Regions from separate parts of the Homo sapiens genome. Here region 2 is linked to region 1. The links are contacts of gene promoters, found by promoter capture Hi-C in blood cells and fetal thymus (Javierre and others, 2016). All regions are on one chromosome and are shown on one strand. The core of a region is centred on a gene start or on the middle of the fragment in contact, and the rest is flanking DNA. Distances in the headings are between cores, read along the strand shown. Region 1 holds the start of MTSS2 (MTSS I-BAR domain containing 2). Region 2 overlaps PDPR (pyruvate dehydrogenase phosphatase regulatory subunit).

Region 1 (5,297 bases), core at 655-3,154:
ACCACCTGGACCGGAGGGTTGTCCTCTGACAGGCCTGGCACGGAGGAGGGCCCACCGAGTGGTCCCATGAAACACTAAGGGTCGTCACGCCCTCCCGAGGAGCTCAAGGACCTGCCTGTCAGGACCAGGGCTGGGCCTGCCAACCCAGGGCAGTGTTGGGGCCGGAGGCTGCTGTGTCTGCCCAAGCTCCTCTCAGAGTCCAGTCCCCAGGCCTCCAGCGCTGTCAGCTGCACCCTGGCATTCTCACAGAGCTGGCTGCCCACCCAGTGGGGGGCTATAGCCTCAGAGACCACTCATCCTCTGGAATCAACCTCTTTCTAATACCCTCTTGGAAAAAGAGCTTGCCCCTCCTCCAGCACACTAGAGCTCTGGCCTTGTGTGTATATGTATACATACGTGAACACATGCCTGTGTGTGTGTGTGTGTGTGTGTACTTGTATGCACGTAGGCACCAGCACAAAGATCTGAATGATGCACCCCACCCCCACCCCAATAAAGAAATAACAGAAAACCCTCAACCCGAGCCGGCCTGCTCCTTCCCAGCTGACACGTGCAGCTGTCCGGGGGCCTCACCCTCTGTCCTGGAGATCGGGTTTCATGATGGCCCCAAGGAGTACTGGCTGCCCCAGGGCCTGGTCCCTGCACTCACCTGAGTGGAGCCATGGGCCTAGAGCCTAGGTCCCCACCTCTGGAACCTGCACCCTCCTGGAGAGCACCATGCACTGCCTGCCCTGGAATCCTGAACCCTGCCTTCCCCAATCTGCCTTTCTCATCCTGACTCCCTGGGGCAATGGGAGTTCCCCACTGGGGACATGGGAGCTGAGCCCCAGGAGTTCCTGGATGAAAGGGCAATGCACACTGCAGAACACTTTGCAGATCTCGGGGCAAGGGGAGGAAAAGCCCAGAGCAGTCCAGGGAGGGGCAGGTGCCCCAACCACTGCTGCAGCTGAAAGCCCTTCCTCACCGGGAGTGGTACCACCTGTCCCCAGGCTTTGGGAACCCTGGGCTTGGTCTCCTAATGAGCTTGTAATTGGCTCCCTCCGGCCCATGGAGTAGGCGAGAAGGAGCTTGTGCCTGCTCTTCCCCAGAGTGCGCTCCCCCATCGTGCTGCCCCCCAGGGTGGGTTTCCCTGCCTGGAGTCTCCAGGACAGGCTGCGATTGACATTGCTACCCCATGCACGTGTGTGCATCGCACCCACCGTGGACTCAGGCAGCAGAGACCAAGGACACTCCAGCTCTGCTCTGCAGGTCCGACATTAGCCCCCACCCGCGAAGAAGGAGGTTGTTCAAGGCCCAGGAGACTACCACTGCCCCCCAAATGCCCAGCCTTGGGCACCCCATCCGGGTGGCATCGGCACCACTTGGAGAAGGAGCCAAGGAACTTGGAAGGGTCCGAACTTGAGGAAGGTCTGTGCCTGCGATGAAACGTCCCAAGGCGGGCGGCTCCACGATACCCCGCGCCCTGCTGTGTGCGGTGTATGCCACCCATCCAGCCCATGCACCGACCCCATCCCGCCACTGTACCCACTGCCTGTCTTTAGAAGCGCGAGAAGCCCCCCGCCCCAGACCAAAGGCCAGAAGATATCGTGGAGCCCCTGCCCGGGGGCCGAGGCCCAACCGCCAGTCCCGCTCCTGCGTGGGCAGGGCGGGCCCCGCCCAGCGCCGCCCCCCGACCCTCGGTGGCGCCCGCGCCCGTCGGCCCCGCTCGCCGGACCAGTCTGGCAGCGCCCGGGCTCGGATTTCAAAGCCCTGGTTTCTGGCCGTGAATGGGCCTGCGCCCGCGCGGCCGTTCCCACAGCCCCCTCCCGCGCGGCCCGCCCTCCTTCCCTCCCTCCTCGCGGTCCCCCCTCCGCCGCGCCCACGTGACGCCCGATCCTCGGCGGCTCGGATTACCGCCGCCGTCAGTCCCCGCGCCGAGGCTGCGCCGCGAGCTGCCCGCGCCGCGCCCCCCGCGCCGCCCGCCAGCCCCGCTGCGACATGGCCCGCGCCGCCCGCCGGAGGCCCGCGACCCCGGAGCGCGGCGCGGCCGGCCGCTGAGCGCAGCCTGGAGGCGGGAGGCCCGGCCCGGCCTCGGAGCGAGCGCCCGCGCGGCCTGGCCCCCTCCCTTGCGCTGCTCCCCGCGCTCCGTGCGCCTAGCCGCCGCCGCGGCCCGGCCCAGCCAGAGCATGGAGACGGCGGAGAAGGAGTGCGGCGCCCTGGGCGGGCTCTTCCAGGCCATAGTCAACGACATGAAGGTAACCGGGGCGCGGCGGGGCCGGGCGCGCGGCGACGGGTGCGGGACCCCCCGGGGACGCGTGGCGGCGGGTGGCCGAGCCTCGTGTGGCCGCGCGCCGCGGTGTCTGTGTGTCCTTGTCTGAGCGCGTCCTGCCTGCGTCTGCTGGGCGCCCGTGTCTCCGGGTGCCCGTCTGGGGGTGTGGGTGCTCGTGTGTCGGGGTGTCCGTGCGGTGCCCGCGGTGGCCCCGTGGGGTCCTGACCCGAGCCTGTGCACACGCAGGCTCCCTGCGCCCCAGACCGCCAAACCATGAATGGGGTTTGGATCCAGGACCGACTCTAGGGCCCTTTAACGAGTCCGGGGTCTTACCGGCCTCCGCCCCCTTCCACCACCATGTTCCCCCACGGCCCCGGAGCCCAGACAATGCTGTCACCGCCAAAGCAGGAAAAAATAATAAAGCGGAGAACCGTTAACTCCTTCCCCGCCGACCTAGGCCTCTGCACCCGACCGTGAGACTGCGTCCCCCAGCCCCGCCCCACCCCCACAGCCCCAGGAAGCTCCAGGACTCCAAGGTCTCCAGGCTGAATGTCCCTGCATCCCAAGGATAGGCCTTGATCATCACCTTGGGAGGAGGCGGGATGAAGGTTGGGGTCGGTGGAGCAACCCCAAGGAAGCGCTTTTCCTACCCCATTACCACCCTGGGCTCTCAGCTCCGAGCCCTCCTTGTCTCCCAGGATTGCTTAAGGTCAGGCTGGATCCAACCACCCATTCATTCCTCACCCCACCAGGTGGGGAAACTGAGGCCTGGAAATGGCTCAAGGTCACTAAGGAGACTATTGGACCCTTCCCCTGACCTCAGCCCCCATTTTTCCTCCTGGGAAAATTAGTGGGTTCCTCTCCCCAAATGAGGCCAGGGTTTGGCAGGGCTGCCCTACGCTGACTAGGCAGAGAGGGCCCAGCTCCAGTGATAGGGTGGGGGCCAGGAACCAGTATTCCTGCCCTCCTGCCGTGCCCCCTTTCCTTAGCCTAGGATGAAGGGGCAGGATTTGGGGGCTGGGAGAAGGGGAAAGAACGAGGCACCCCACAGGATCTCCCAAGGGCCCCCACCCCCACAGCCCAGCGCAGATTCTCCAAGTGCACAACACAGAATCCCACCAGGCCAGGGATGGGGGTGACACCACCCAGTACAGTGCTGCTAGGACAGGCCCCGTGAGGGGTGGGGGTTGCTGGCAGGTTGGAGTTCGAGGCTCCCGGTGCTGCCAGGACAACAGCCCCAGGGACAGCTGCCAGATCTCTGCCCCCGGAAGAGGCCTGAAGCCAGCCTGGCCTGGGACTACCCAGTTAGCGGCTTGTAGATGCCCCCCACCCCCTGCCCCTCATGGTGCACTCCCCCTGGGACCCCCATCTCTTGCAACTGTACATCTGGGCCCCTCCGCTGGCCCCCAGCAGTCCCCACCTGTCCTGTGGACATCACAGCCCTGGCCCCAGGATCCTGTTAAGGGACTGGGCAACACAGACCACCCTCCCCTGGCCGATCCCAGAGCTGGCTCCGGATGGGCCTTCCCGCACCCCACCACCCACCACCACTGGCAGCCTCATAGCAACCACTGCAGAGAGCAGCAGATTTTGCTCGTGGAAGTGGACTAGGACAGTCTCTCTCCCTCTCCAGCCAATTTGCAAGGAACTTTGGGATGAGACAGAAGGAAGTGGGCCCAGATCATAGCAAGAGGTTCAAGCCAGACATCGGGCATGATTTGCTGACATGTGGAGGCAAAACAGGAGAGGCTTCACCTGGGATGATGCCAAGGACAGATTCGCCCCTACCTATGACACAGGCATGTGTTCAGGGGCCATGACCAGGGGCAGAGAAGGGGATGAGGCCACCTGGAAGCTGACCACCTGGATTTGCGGGGGCAGCTTCTGGATTTTCCCCTCGGTGGCCTGAGCAGCAGGGCCTCCGTAGAGGAAGGGCGGCCATCAGCAGCCAGGTTGAGGAGACTGAGCTTGCCCCGTGAGGCCACCCCACAGTGAGTCCACAGGCCCCACAGAAGCCCTCCCCTGGGCCTCTGGGAGGCCCTGACCTTGGGCTGAGCGGGGGCCAAGGTCAGATGCCCACTGGTGTCAGGCTGCCCATTGAAACCCAGAGAGGGGCAGAGACTTGCCAAAGGTCATAGTTCTGGGCACGGCACCTTCAGCAAGGTGAATGGGGCCTCCACCCAGTGCTGGCCCAGCCAGAAAATGGGGTCATACTCTTCACCCACCCCTCAAGAGTGGGGAATGTCACCTGGACACATAGGCCTGGCCAGGCCTCTGCTAGGGGCCCCTGCAGAGGGCAGGGCTTGCGTACTGTTAGCTGGTGTTAACTGAGCACTTACTGCGTGCTGGGCGCTGCGAGGAGTGCTGGCTGAGCAGCACCTGCTTCAATTTCCACACTGACCCAGTGGGGCAGGTGCTCCTCCTCTCCTGATTTTACAGGTGAAGAAACTGAGGCTCAGACAGGGGGCCCTTGCCCAGGGGCACCTGGAAAGCCCACTCCCTGGGATTGGAGGCTGGATTGCTCACCCACACTCCACATCTGAACCACAGCCACTGCCGGGACAGAGACAGAGTCCCCTCATCCCTGTCCACTTGGGCGCCTCTAATGAGAAGCCCCTCACCTCCCCACTCCAGAGCAGCCACTGTGCTTGGGGCAGAACTGGGTGTCTCTCACATCCCAGCAGTCCCTGCCGCCTCCCCAGCCTTGACGTTCAGTGCTTGTCTCCCTGCTTTGTAAGGGAGTCCCTCTACCTGGCGTGCAGTGACCAGGCAGACATGGGATCAGGTCCTGACCCCGCCACCCTGTGGCCGTGGGCAAATGAGCTAACCTCTACGGGCTTCTGTTTCCTTGTTGGTGAAATGGGGCTGTGGGGAAGGTTTACCTGGGCCTGTCCCAGGTGAAGGCTGAGGATGCTGTTCCTGGGGCACTGGCTGCTGGAGCCCTATCTCTTATTTTTAATCAGTGAAATTGACCTATCCATGAAGAGGCGGATATAAACAAATAAGACATAAGCTCTTTGTCTCTGGGGTCCTTTATGTGGTTACCGTG
Region 2 (4,825 bases), core at 1,081-3,580, 530 kb after region 1:
GGGCTCTAAGCTCCAGTTCTTGGTGTGCAAAGGAAATTCTGACATACATCTTTTGAAAGAGATGCTAAAAAACCCTCCCTATCTCCTGTAATTTCTGTCTTTGACAGACAGGAAAATAAGAAGGCAGAAGATGGTCTGCAAAGGATAAAAACAGGTGCATCTAAGAATGAGAAAAATGGCTCATGAAGAAATGTGTAACTCTCCAAGAGATGCAGACACTCTGCTCAGAGAAGTCAAGAACCATAAACAACTCTTCATGTTTCATGGACAAAGGGAAGGCAAAGGCATACAAAAATACTCAGTTGTCTTGAAAAGTGTACTGGTAGTGATCAGGGCTACAAAGGCGAGCCCTGTACTGACAATGGAGGAGCCTTACAACTCAGCACCTTAAATTGTTGGCCTGAAGTGGTGGCGGGGAGGGAGGCGCTGACGGAGAGACCCATGGCTCACCACTTATTGCGTGTACACAAGGCCTGGGGCAAGCCTCACAAGTCTACCATTTCTTCCACTCAACTGTGCTTCTCCTGAATCCATGTGCCTGAAATGACATATGCAAGGTGAACATTCTTTATACTGTGTTAATACTGCTTATATCAATGTTCGTGAGGGGTGTGTGGGGGATGGGGTGCAGCAGGAAAATTAGAATGGCAGGAGGTTCTTATTTATTATTAAGCACTGTTGACCAAACCTCTATCTTAGATTTTTTTTTTTTTTTTTTTGAGACAAGAGTCTCACTCTGTTACCCAGGCTGGAGTGCAGTGGTGCAATCTCAGCTCACTGCAACCTCTGCCTCCTGGGTTCAAGCAATTCTCCCACCTCACTGGGCCTCCCAAAGTGCTGGGATTACAGGAGTAAGCGACCACGCCCGGCCAACCAAACCTCTATCTTAGATGTTAAAGAAGACCCTTATTGACTACACTGGCCAAGAAGCAACAGAGATATAAAGCTGAATCTTGTAGCTAACCCCTGAAAGCAAGCCAACGCAAATTCCTCCGCCAGGCCAGTCTTCTAGTGCCAATATGGAGACTGTGGGCCACAGAAGATTCCCTTCTATTTCAGGTTCTCAAAAAGTGGTGTAGACTCAGGCAAATGCCAGGAAATGTGTCCATATGCCAGAGGAGACACAGAGCCAGAAATGAAGGCTATGGGTCCTGTCTTCAGTGAAACACTGAACGCTCTCGGAAAGCTCCCATCATTCTTGCATCGCTACTGCCACCAAGACGGTGGCAAGGGAGGAGGCTAACTTTCAAATGCATGCAACGGCAGGTAATATACTGTGGAAGCTGGAGGTTTACTTTTCATGTTTTAGTTACTTTCTTGCAAACAGCAGTCCAGGAAAGCAAGCAAGCAGGTAAAACTCCGGGTGTGCATGAGGAGATGATCCAAGGCCAGTGGGCCTCCCAGTGAGAACCAAACAGGAGTGGCCAGGCTCCACTCCTGGGGCCAGAGTGAAACCGGGGTTTAATCACTGGGCTATGTGGTCTCTGTGTCTCTGGCCTGAATGAGATCTCTTCAATGTCGGGGGACAGGGATCCCTGGAAGAGCGTGAAAAATACAGTGGTCACTGTGCAGTTCTCTCTGCTGGAGCCTGTCCTGCCATCATACAAGGTGCTGTGACAGCAATGCAAGGTGAAAGGAGATCAAATGGCCCAGCTCAGCAGTTAGTGTTTGTCCCTTTTTGCTCTTCAGAGTTCCTGAATGAGAGCTTTTCTGGCTTCAGTACCAATGATCACAGAAGGAACATCTTCCTGATGCAAGCTTAGATGGAAGTCAATGACCCTGGCAGTGCTAAGAACAGAAGTCACACGTGGCCTGACGATGAAGGGGAGGTAATTAAAGACATTTCAAGGGAGGGGAAGGCCCACGGAAAACTGGCAACCCTGGGTCTCCGTTTGAGGCCAATATACTTTGTGTTCCTAGGTTCAGATGGCATACACCGACAAGAGAAGGCAGAGACCATCCTTCGTGGTGAGCACAAAATGCTATGACAGGTAATTGCAGAGAGAAAAAAGCACCCAACTCTGTAAAGCCAAGTCCAGTCACCCATTCACAAGAGTCCAAAATCCTTCAAATCTCTAGGGACAGAAGACAAACGTGCTGCCCAGAATGAGCTGAGACACAAGGCAAACCCTTGGAAATGACACATGGATGAGGAGGCTGTGGTTGTCCCTCCTTATTCCTGCTGGATTTGCAGCCACGGCTCTGGATCTGGGGCATCTACTGGCCTCCCCTGTTCACTCAAGAGGCCACTGCCTCTCAGGAGTCCAGAATGCTCTGATATCTGACACCGGTGGTCAGGAAGTTATGCTGCCCTCTCCTCTTGAACAGCTAAGATGCTTGGACACTAGACAGAGGCAAAGCAGTTATGCCAGAAGCAGGGGAGAGTCATTCACTGTCAGATCTGTCTGTTCAAAGAGCTCACATTAGACCAATCACAGAAAACCACCAGACTCACACAGCTTGTATTTGAATGAACCAGGAGAGACTTCAAGGATCAACTCTAAAGTGCTAGAAGAGAAATCTGTGTTTGGGGCACTGAATAAACAAGTGATGTCCTAGAAGATCAACACCCCATCAGTCTTAGGAGTATGACCCTATTCATGGACAAGGGGTTTCAATGGACAGCCTGAGTGCTCAGCCCCCCATCCTCCTCTCCTAGCAAGACAAGCAGTCTGTTGCTCAGAGGGGGAAACTGATGTCATTTAACAGGAGGTCAGGATTTCTGGTTCTACTTCAACAAACAGTGCATAATTTTGGACACAGCATCAGATTTCCTGACTTCTTACAAAGGACAGCTAATTAAAAACGTGTCAATCTGTAGTAATTAGTTGGAGATTAACAAGGGCAGAAGAGAATCCAAGTCTTAAAACTCTATGTGGGATACATTTCTGATGAAGCTTCTATTTGACTAATATACTGTGATGATGGCACTATTCGATTTTAAACTATGGAGACAGCTTTTATTATTTCGATTTGGATCCTGGTAAGTGGTGATACTGCTATGTAACAGTTAAAGCACAAATGTATTGCCATAGTTAAGGTTGAAGAGTTATGTCTATGTGTAACTAAATTCTTCTGGATTCAATTACAAATACGTTTTCCTTTACAAAGATGGCTTTGGAGGGGTGCAAATGCTACGTGTTTGGAAGAGCAGAGGAGGCCTGCAGCTCTCAGTCACCTGTCTCCATCTTCGGAGGTAAGTCTGCTCCCTGCTGGTAATGCCTGCATCTGCCCAAGGGCCTGTTCCTCCTCTCCCAAGGCCTTCACAGCTGGTGTTCACTGGTTGGCCCTCCAGCCGGCAACACCTCTCCTCCTCTCTGCCTAGAGGCAGCATCTCTCGGCTAGTTAAGTACATACTTGCTCCAAGACAACTAGACCCCCAAACAGAATTCTAATCATATGCTCCTCTAACAAGCCAACCAGAACCTTCCAAAAAGGTTTAGGCACTAAAGTCAGTAATCACTAGGAGTGGTCTAGTTGGGGAAGTGGCAAGAAATGTCTAGAAGGAGCCAGCGTAAGTGGGTAAACAGAGATCCCAAAGAAACACCAGAGAAGGCAGACACCTGAGCATTTTAAGCTGCTCTAATGAAATGGAAGGATGTCCCTTAATACACTTATAGACCTATCAGAGCTAATGCTTCCAAGATACCAACACGCCAAAGGCTAGAGTTTTACTAACCAAAATGTCTTATAGCAGTTTATTTGCACTTAAAAAAAGTCAGATTAGGGCAGTTGATATGCAAGGGGAAAATGAAGCATTGAGGCTGGACAACAGTCCATGATATCTAAGTTTCACCTTGGGAAAACAGAGACACTGCCTGAAAGCGCAGGGCACTTCTGGGCACCCACATTGTCTCCTGCTCCAGAGGATATGGAAGGGTGGGTGGAGGGAAACAAAGAGCCTGGGGGGAAAGGAGGAAAAGCGGTCTCTAGCCTTATGCAACGTACACCCTTTGGACTCAGAACTCTCAGTGGACTAACGTGGGTCACCTCTGTGTAGCTCTGCTCTGTGCTGGAGAGTCAAACCTGGAATTCCGGCAGCTCTCTGGAACTCAGCACAGCCCGCAAGGTTGAAAGGCCCAGGACAACACACCTGATCCCTTCCCCTCCCTATTCTAAAGGGAGAGAAACATGACTTTATGGGCCAACTGTGAAAGGGACAAGTGAGGCTGACCTGACAAAGTCAAACGCACTGGGAGAAGGGGAAGGAGGAACGGCTGAACTTTGGACAGCTGAGAGAAAAGCAGCATTGTTTCCATAGCAGAACACTCAGCATCACTGGTGGGGACTTTCTAAGGTCAGACCCTTTTGACTGGGAAAAGCAACACACAAGGCAATATGGTTTTTCCCTTTCAAACACTGTGGCTTACTTGTTTACTCAACTAAGAAAGAAAAAGCAACCTTATTATAGAGATTAGCAAGAGATGAAGAAAATTATAGGGAGGCTGCCCTGGCCCAAAGGTCTGCTAATGGCTTCTGCAGGGAGGATGAGGATGGTGCTAGGTTAACTGCTTGTCTCCACTACAGACCAGAGAACGTCCATGCGATGCCTCTTATCAGTGAGGTAGATAATCATCCTCTTGCCAGAGGTATCGAGTGCCAGCCCACAGCACAGCAGAACAGGAGAACGAGCTGCCGGGCTGCAGGCACGAGCTGCCCCTCAGGGCTGCATCCGACACACGGCAACCCCACCAGAACTAATAGGCTGCTCCAAGAAAATGGAACCCAAGGGAGAGGGACTCGTGCCCTGAGACCTGCACCACCCCGGCTTGCCCTGCCTTGAGATGCAGAATTTGAAAGCAGCTGTCACCATCACTCATGTCCA

Evidence for each region. The method cuts DNA at HindIII sites, captures the fragments that hold promoters and counts their contacts. A CHiCAGO score of 5 or more calls a contact.
Region 2: a contact is called between a fragment that was not itself captured here and the fragment with the promoter of MTSS2 in region 1, in 2 of 17 cell types (total CD4 T cells and neutrophils). The highest score is 6.0, in total CD4 T cells.

Annotation. Positions count from the first base shown.
Region 1 is chr16:70,682,660-70,687,956 of GRCh38, reverse strand. MTSS2 (MTSS I-BAR domain containing 2) reads left to right here and starts at 1,904. Exons shown (of 15, transcript NM_138383.3): 1 at 1,904-2,234. The coding sequence starts at 2,166. It overlaps VAC14 (VAC14 component of PIKFYVE complex), which reads left to right. Exons shown (of 19, transcript NM_018052.5): 19 at 1-518. The coding sequence ends at 29. RefSeq lists an enhancer at 1-376. The HindIII fragment of the contact is 19,223 bases long and covers 1-5,297 here.
Region 2 is chr16:70,157,176-70,162,000 of GRCh38, reverse strand. It overlaps PDPR (pyruvate dehydrogenase phosphatase regulatory subunit), which reads right to left. Exons shown (of 19, transcript NM_017990.5): 19 at 1-4,825. It overlaps LOC400541 (a long non-coding RNA gene), which reads left to right. Exons shown (of 3, transcript NR_126007.1): 2 at 3,112-3,196. Among named protein-coding and RNA genes, the nearest start is that of CLEC18C, 14 kb to the left of the region's middle. The HindIII fragment of the contact is 1,139 bases long and covers 1,761-2,899 here.